Linked DNA regions of Homo sapiens: region 2 is linked to region 1. Evidence: promoter capture Hi-C in 16 types of primary human blood cells and fetal thymus (Javierre and others, 2016). All regions are on one chromosome and are shown on one strand. Each heading gives the region's core, a stretch centred on a gene start or on the middle of the fragment in contact. The rest is flanking DNA. Distances are from core to core; before and after follow the strand shown.

What was found. Contacts are between HindIII fragments. The CHiCAGO score rates a contact against its expected background, and 5 or more counts as called.
Region 2: the fragment with the promoter of TBC1D9 here is called in contact with a fragment that was not itself captured in region 1 in 2 of 17 cell types (total B cells and monocytes); the score reaches 7.7 in total B cells.

What each region holds. Positions count from the first base shown.
Region 1 is chr4:139,557,865-139,562,164 of GRCh38, reverse strand. No RefSeq gene overlaps it. Among named protein-coding and RNA genes, the nearest start is that of SETD7, 3.8 kb to the right of the region's middle. The HindIII fragment of the contact is 1,212 bases long and covers 1,242-2,453 here.
Region 2 is chr4:140,754,179-140,758,478 of GRCh38, reverse strand. TBC1D9 (TBC1 domain family member 9) reads left to right here and starts at 2,094. Exons shown (of 21, transcript NM_015130.3): 1 at 2,094-2,563. The coding sequence starts at 2,434. RefSeq lists enhancers at 1,572-1,621, 1,112-1,753, 1,754-2,396 and a silencer at 2,052-2,741. The HindIII fragment of the contact is 6,603 bases long and covers 1,289-4,300 here.

The sequences.
Region 1 (4,300 bases), core at 598-3,097:
AGCAGAGGTGAGTGGGATGGGTGGGCAGCCTCATTCTTTCAGAACACTGTATCAGAGTATTTGTCTTGTGGACCACACAACTAATGTCCTTCATTCTACTCCAGATAACTAAGCAAACTTTTGGATGGAATTTGTCTTCTCAAGTGCATTTATTTATATAGAGAGATCTTTTGCCCTGACAGTGTGAGTATTCTGATCTGTCCATCATAATTCAGGCATACATCTCAGTCTCTCGGGGTCTAGTTAATGTGAGTCCACTTGAGGAAGGTCAAGAGCTGACCCTTGATGAATGTTATGACATTTGTGGTAAATAGGTCAGCTGGAAATACTCCTCTGCCCATCCTGGATATTGTAGTGTCAAAAGAGTATACCATGTACCTGCCCTCTGCAATGTCTACTTTTGCAGAGGACCAATTGCAGGACTCAATAATCTTAATTTTAGCCTAGTAAAGTAATTTTTCAAAAACAATTAGAGAAAATAATATCTATGAAAACACATTTGGTTTTGGTGGCGGTTTGTCTTTATTTTTCAAGTTTCTGCAATCCTATTGTTTTTCTAAAGTAATTTCTAAAACAGATGCCCCTTTGAAAACTATTTCCAATTTTTCTTTGTGTGTGTGTGTGTGTGTGTGAGGGTTTTTTTTGTTGTTGTTTGTTTTTTTGAGATGGAGTCTCACTCCGTGGCCCAGGCTGGAGTGCAGTGCAGTGATGCCATCTCGGCTCATTGCAGCCTCCGCCTCCCAGGTTCAAGTGATTCTCCTTCCTCAGCCTCCCAAGTAGCTGGGACTACAGGCATGCACCACCAGTTTTTGTATTTTTGTAATTTTTGTATTTTTAGTAGAGACAGGGTTTCACCATGTTGGCCAGGCTGGTCATGAACTCCTGACCTCAGGTGATCCACCTGCCTCTGTCTCCCAAAGCGCTGGAATTACAGGCGTGACCCACCGTGCCTGGCCTCATTTTTTTTTTTTCAATCATTTCACTCAGCAGCTTCACTAGGCCCAAGCCTGACATAAGAGTTTTCATATCCCATAATGCAAAAAACCCCAAGAACTCTGTGAAGGAACAATATTGGCCCAGAGTCGACCCAAACAGGGAGATCTGGGCTGCATCTTCCCTCCCCTCCCCGCCCCAGAAAGTCTAAATTTAGTTTACTGGATACCCTGCAATGACATTAACATGTCATTGCAACATTAACATGTTGCAAAAACAAGAATCAAGCAAAAGAGAAAGAGGAAGCTTAATGTGGCATGAGGTATTTTAATACCATGGCAACTGTGGTGTCTTCTCTATTATTTAATTCACTTCCTTAGGTCAGGTTATTCTGCCCTCTCTCTCTTGCACTTCCTGTTGCTGTAATCAAATCAGGTCACCCTGAATCTGTAAGTCTTCTTCCTGACTGCACTCATGTCTATTTCCAGCAGAATGAATTTTCTCCATTTCTTTCTTTGCTCCCTGGACCTTTATTTGGTGCCCTTGATGTCCCTGCTCTTCCCAGTGCTCCACAAGCTGCAAACGCTTCCCTTTCATCCCCATCTCCTCCCCCACCCGTCTCCTCCTCGCTGCTCCTCTCCCAGCCCCTCCCTCCAGCTTCTGCAGTTGTCACTAACACAGTTAGCCACTTGATTAGTGACTCAGTGATTCAGAACCCAGGAACCTTGGTTCTCCTAAAACTTCCATGCTTCCCTCCCTAGAGTCAAGATAAAGGTTCTCCCCTCACCTGCCTGCCCAGATAGAGCCATTAACGTGAGAGGACTTGAGTATTCAGTTTGTTGGAGTTGCCCTGGCTTCTTCCCATTTCCTTTTTATGTGCCTTTTCCTGGGGCTTCTCAGGCTCTATTTACCTTTTCTCCAGAAAAGGTGGACAGAGAAGGTTTGAGCTTCGAATTTATGTAGCCCAACTCTTCATTTACAGATGGGAAAACGAAGGCCCCCCCCCCGGCCCCCGCAGAACTGAATTGCCCAGTTGCTTGGCTAGTTCTTGGTGGAACCAAAACAGACAAAGCAAAAACTCAATCAAACTGGCTAATTTGGTGGGAAAAAATCTTGTGAAGGAGTGAGCAGTGCCAAAACGAGACTTGATGATTATTTAAAAGGTCTTTCACTAATTTTATCCTTGTCATCCTGCTGGCGGTGTAAGCAAGTGATGGAAACCAGAGCCAGGCCAGCAACCATAAAGCCACCAGGGCTTCTGGAGAGGCTCTGATGCGACTTCCTACCGCTGAGGTCTCAGAGGCTCCTCCCTCCCAAATACATGGAGACCCAGAAGACTGCTTGGGCCCCTCCACTCCCTGCCAGCGGGCAGGATGAGGAGTCAGTAACAGCCAACAGTAGTGAATCCCACATAAGTTCCACATTCACTACTTGTTTCACAATTCGCTTAGCATGCATAGCAGCGAATTGACAGAATTGTTTCCCCTAAATGTAGGAAGGTGCATAAAATACAAGAAGCTTGTAAAAATATATTTATTGCAAAAGTTATATCAGTCTTGTATGTAAGCACCAGCCTTCTCCAGGGAAAGACAGGGGTGGTAGAATGAATAAAATTAACTCAGTATTTTGACTGCTTGCTGCAATGGAAGAGGGAATTATGTTTCCCAAGCTGGGTATGAAGAGAAGGAATATAGCCTTGGAGGCAATGGAAACTAAGCCAGAGCAGCTTAGAAAAGTCACCCCTCCTCCTGATTCAAGACCAAAGACAGGGAAAAAAAAGTCACTCTCAGTGTGAACATGAAAGCAAGTCTCACCCAGCCTAGATGTTGGATGTCCTGTGCGGTCCCGTTCCTCCCTGGTAGAGCTTGTTCTGTCTCACTGGGATCTGCCAAGTTAGGAGCTGAGCCACACTACTTCTGCTGCTGCTGTTGCTGCTGCACATTGTTTGTGATTAAGAGTTTTATTGATTTTCTAGCCCATGACCACATTGGTGGGGACAGAGTACGACAGGGGAAACTGGTGGAAAGCCAAGTAGAAAGAGAGTTTATGAAATCAGCTCTCAATGAAGAAAACTGTGGGAAAGAATGCGATGGAAGCAGATTTGGGGCCAGTCGATGTGGGAAAGTAGAACAACTCAAAAATGCTCTTCAGATTTGAACTGAAACAAAGCACTTTGCCAAAACATAGGAGGAGAATCCAGTCTGTGAGAAAGCCTCAGCACTGTTTATATAAAACAGAATATTCCTATCTGCAAAATCATTGCTGACAATGCTTAACCCACATTCTGTACCAGGCACTGTGTTGTGTTCTAGGACCATAAATAAGAATCAGTCCGTCTAGAGAAGGAGACTCGAAACATACACAACATGATTTGTAAAGATACAAGTGGATCTTAAGAGAGTCATAAAAACATTTTGCCCCAGCTTTGGGCCCAGAGCCAGCAGGAATGAATGGTGGGGGAAGAGGGATGGGACTGTGTCCCTGCTGCTGCCTGCCTCATGTGCAGATCTGGTGAAGGTTCTCTGTAGTTTGACCCCGCATCACTACTGACTTTGCTAGAAAGACCCTGCTCCCTTCCTGTCCCTGCCTCTTGTAGGTCCAGAGGACCCCTGCTTCACCGACGGCGGGGGCCGGGGTTGGGGGGTGCCGTAGGCAGGGTTTCAGGTGTTCTCAAGGTAGTAGGTAGAAAGGGAGCGCTTGACAGTTTGGGTGCTTAGTACAGGCTGGGAAAACCTCACAGCACCAAGGGGACAGTTGGACACTTGCAACATGATTCCTCCCCTCTCCTTCACTCCCACACGTACCCACCCACCATGAAACTGTGTCTTCTGTACGTCTTGAGAGATTTCTTCCAGCCTCCCAGCCCTGCCTCACTGCCTTTGAGTAAGAGAATAAAGTCTTTTTGCTGCTTCCTTCAGCTTTCAGCATTGTTTTTCACCCTGAAAATCAACTGGAAACTGGGGAAGACGAGTATCTGGTATGTTTTAGTGCACCAGTATAATATGCAAGGGAGGGGGTGATATGTAAAAAGGTTAAATGAGAAAAAATATCATATAATTCAAAACCAGTGAGTGACCGAGCTCAGTAAATGATGGCTTTTTAAAAATCAGATATAAAATCCTGTTTCTGTGGTTCATGTTTGAAAATGATGTAACCTAAAGTGGCTCTTTCATCTTCCACTGCACGTACACCTTCTCTGTTTAGCCTTGGACTCCCAGTATCTGCACTGGAGGACTTTAAGGAGGTCAAACCTAAGCCAAGAGACTTCAGAGAGGTATAGACTAAGCTAGAGGGTGTCTTGCTTGAGCCAAAGAACCTCAGAGTGCTCTAGCCTAAGCCCCAAGGACCTTATGTCAATGTAGACTAA
Region 2 (4,300 bases), core at 845-3,344, 1.2 Mb before region 1:
AGATCCAATGGTAATAGACTGAGAACAGACCCAGTCTGTCTGTTCAGATTCTTCTTGGCCTCTCCGTATAGCTTTCCCTCCTCCTGGGTTTAGAGCAGGACTCCTTTGGAAAGGGGACCTACTATCCAACAAGGTAGGGTAGATAATTTCTTTATTTCTCTATTCTTTATGTCTGCTCTTACACAGAAGAGTGAGGAATGGTAATATTTCTAGGTTTTGTAGCTTCCTTTGGGAAGAGGGGTTTTAGTTTCTATGACCTGCCTTTAGTTTCCATGACTCACTTTGGGGGAGAAAGAGAGGTGGGAGACAGGAGGGCAGAAGGAGGTCAGAGAGAAACTGCTTCTGAGGCCTTTCAATCTCCTTTAGTTCAAAGTACTCAGCATGCCAAAGCACCATGCTTTGTGGTATCATTTTCCAAACCCCAACATGGTATTAAGGCACTTAGAGTTTTTAAAAATACCAATTATATCAAGTAAAAGAATACCTATGGAAACACTTCAAAAATATAAAAGTTACATGATATATTAATATAATTTTTGCATATGTATGACTTATAATCTTATTGTTTGCTTTTTATTTGCAGATTTTGTGACTGAAGGCACTGCACTGTGACCAAAAGTGCCAAATGAGTTTTTTGAGTCTGTGTTAAATACATGAGGTTTCCACTGATGCCTGGAAGAAGCAGATCAGTCTGTGTGGTAACATCAAGGGAAACTTCCATTCCTTGAGAGCCCAAGCGGTAGGAAGCGAACAGATGAAATGGCAGTCTCATTAGAATGGCTGGTGATTTGCTCATTCGACTAATTGAAGGAATTCAACAATTCAAGTCGGAGCTACAAAAGTCACAATTTTGAAGCCCACACAAGAAGGTTTCATTTGAATCTCTGCTCATTTGGAAAGGGAAAAGTCCCTAGGATTGCCCAGCATCCACAACAAAGCAGAGTCTGCTAAATTCCCATCATTTGGGAAGAGGAACTTTTTTTTTTTTTTTTTTTTTTTTTTTTTTGGCTGAACTATCCTCCAGATCTCCTGGGCGGGAGGAAAAAAAAATGGTCATCAGATATGTAGGCAGATGGGCTGTGATCACCACTGGAAGCTCGAAGTATTTGGGGAAACTGAAACTGTCTAGGGATAAAGCTGCCCTGGTTTGTGTGTTTCTGGTTTCACTGATTAAAAAAAAAATCCATCTACCAAGAGTGGATAAATTTTAAAATTCTGCCATGCCCAGTTTTCGAAGCCCCAAATGCGATATAGGAACAGCTGTGGTGTGAATTAGTTGGTCTAAGCTTTTGGGCCGCTTCCAACTTCTCTATTGCTCACGCCCTACAGGTCAAGGAAAGAAGTGATGTAATGCACTTAGCTAGGCCACTTTAATTACAATGGAATGGAGAGGGGGGAGGGGTCACAAGCGGTGACAAGTTTAGCGCATGACTTGCCCTGGGGATGCAGGAAACAAAAACATCGACGACCATTGGCTGCGTTGGCTTCCGACCCCGGGTCTCTAACCGAGCTCCAGGTCTGGAACCTTGAAACACTTTTCCTGGGAAAAGGGGTGGCGCTATCCCATAGAGCGTCAACCTTAAACACAAACAGCACACACGCACCCACGCAGGCTGGCGGCGTCCTCCCTGCTGGGATGGGCGTCGGGCCCAGTGCTTGGCACACGGTCCCCAGGAGCTTCCCCCGAAGGTTCCCCCGAAGCCAGCCACAGCTGCTCAGCTCGGCGCGCGGAGCCCGCGGTGGTACCGAGTCCGCACAAACCCGGACCCGCTCCAAGTGAGCCGCGTTGTCGTCATTCATTCGCAGTGTCCGGAGCGTCCTTCCAGCGGGGAGCTGGGCTTCCCTAGTGGCGCCTGCGGCCCCGACACGGCGCGTTAAGGCGCGGCGACTTCGGGAGCTCGAGCAGGTAGAGACGGGAGGGGCTCTGGAGCTCCAGTCGGCGCCGCGGGAGCAGCAGCGCCGGAGCCCAGCTTGGCCCTGACCGCGGGGCCGAATCCGCTCGGGTGGCCCTTAGCCCTGCCTGGCGCTGAGCCGGATCCCGGGACTGAGCTATACCACTTCCTCCTCCTCCCGCTCCCTTCCTCCTCCTCTTCCTCCTCCTCCCGCTCCTCCCGCCGCCGTGGGCCGGGAGCCGGGCTGCAGAGTGCCAGGCCGGGCGTCTGCGGCCGCGGGCTCTCGCGGGGCGGCGACGCCGCGGGGAGGATGCTGCTTGCCGCGCCCGCGTCCTCACCGTCCTCCCGGGCCGCCTGCTGGGGCTTTGTTGTGGCCCGGACGCCGCGGGCCACCCCCTGAAGTCGCCTGCCGCCGCCGCCGCCGCACCTAGCGGACGGGCGGGCGGGCGCGCGTGTGCCCAGGAGTGCGCGCCTGTCGCGGTGGTGGGTGCAGGACTGGACCCACGGGCCCATTGTGCGCCCGCCCGCGGCAGCCAGGACCATGTGGGTGAACCCGGAGGAGGTGTTGCTGGCCAACGCGCTGTGGATCACCGAGAGGGCCAACCCATACTTCATCCTGCAGCGGAGGAAGGGCCACGCCGGCGATGGAGGCGGCGGCGGCGGACTGGCGGGTAAGGACCGTGGCCGATCCCTGCAGGAGGGGAGCCGGGAGCGCTGCGGCGCCGCCCGCGGCCTGGGCTGCAGGCTCGGGAGACGCCGCCCGGTCCCCTGGGGCTGGGCGACCCGCCCTGCCTCGTTGTATGCGAGGCATCGAGAGTCGTGATGTTCAGGTTGGGCAGAGATGCTTCTTTTTTTGACTCTGTCAGGCTTGGGGCCCTCAGCGTACTGAGCGCTCTTTAAGTGGATATGTTGAGGAGAATGGGAAAGAGTGAGTCTGGGGCGGAGGGAATGTATTATCCCCTATATATTGAATGCATCATTCCCTTCCCCTCCCCCCCTTAAAAATATTGTTTTCCAAATGGAAAAGAGGGATGGAAGAAGGTTAATTTTTGCTCCACTTTCTTTACTGGCAACAGCAGGATCAGGTATAAAATGCTCTTTTGTTTCCAGGGAAGCGATAAGTAAGGAACTGATGTGGTCATTTCCTATATGAGTTATGACCGAAGAGAATGAATACGGAAACAGGAATTTTTTTGTTTCACCTAATTAGACATAAAGCAAAGCAAATTGTCTGGTTCTAGTTGTAAAAATAATTGGCTGTATAACTGCATTTTAACTATTTTTGCTCAATCACTTCTTCCCTAAACCCCCTCCCTTCAAGGTATTATTGTAATTGTTGCTGAAGCCATGTCATATCATTCAGGATAATAAGATCAGTCAGACCCATATCCAAAGTAGTGCCATATTAGAAATAATCTCGAACTCATACCATACTAGAGAAATTGGACCTTCTCCATCTCTGTGTTATTTAGAATGAACAGAACTGGAATACTTTTTACAGTGAAAAAGTTAGCAGAAGAAATAGTAGAGGTTTCACTAGAAAGGAGACTGCAAAAAAGAGATGAACTTTGACCCTCCTCAGAGTTGAGCTTATATCAACCTCATATATCACCTGGAGTTTGCACAATAGGTAAATTGTTGCTTTCAAATGCTGTGCTATGAAATAAAGATTCTTGATATATGTATTTACTTATGATTATATTTATAAACTAATTTTCTTAAGATTAAAATTCAGGTGTCATGTGGTACAATGTATACTGGTATGTTTGAAGGATCTTGATTCTACCAGAAAAGATAAATCTGCAGAGCTCCAGACCCCATTCTGGAAATACTTACTAGTGATCTGATACCAGGATTTTCCAGGTCATTTTGTAGAAGTTATCTAACTCTAAATGTTAATATGTAATTTACATATCTAATATTGGAATCAGCCCACATTGTCCTTTTTTTTTTTTTTTTTTTTTTTTTTTTTGAGACAGAGTCCTGCTTTGTCGCCCAGGCTGGAGTGCAGTGGCGTGATCTCGGCTCACTGCAACCTCCTTCTCCTGGGTTCAAGTGATTCTCCTGCCTCAGCCTCCTGAGTAGCTGGGACTACAGGCATGCACCAACCCGCCCGGCTAATTTTTTTTGTATTTTTAATAGATGGGGTTTCACCATGTTGGCCAGGCTGGTCTTGAACTCCTGATCTCAAATAATCCGCCCACTTTGGCCTCCCGAAGTGCTGGGATTAAAGGCGTGAGCCACCTCACCCGGCCCATGTAGTCCTTTAAGCCTAGGACAACAACACAGAGTAGATAATTTATTGTAGTAAAAAGAGAACATTTCCTTCTGCAATTAACCCTCCTACACCTTGTAAGCATTAAGTATTCATTTACCTGTGTCATTTGTAATAGGATGTGAAAAATTCA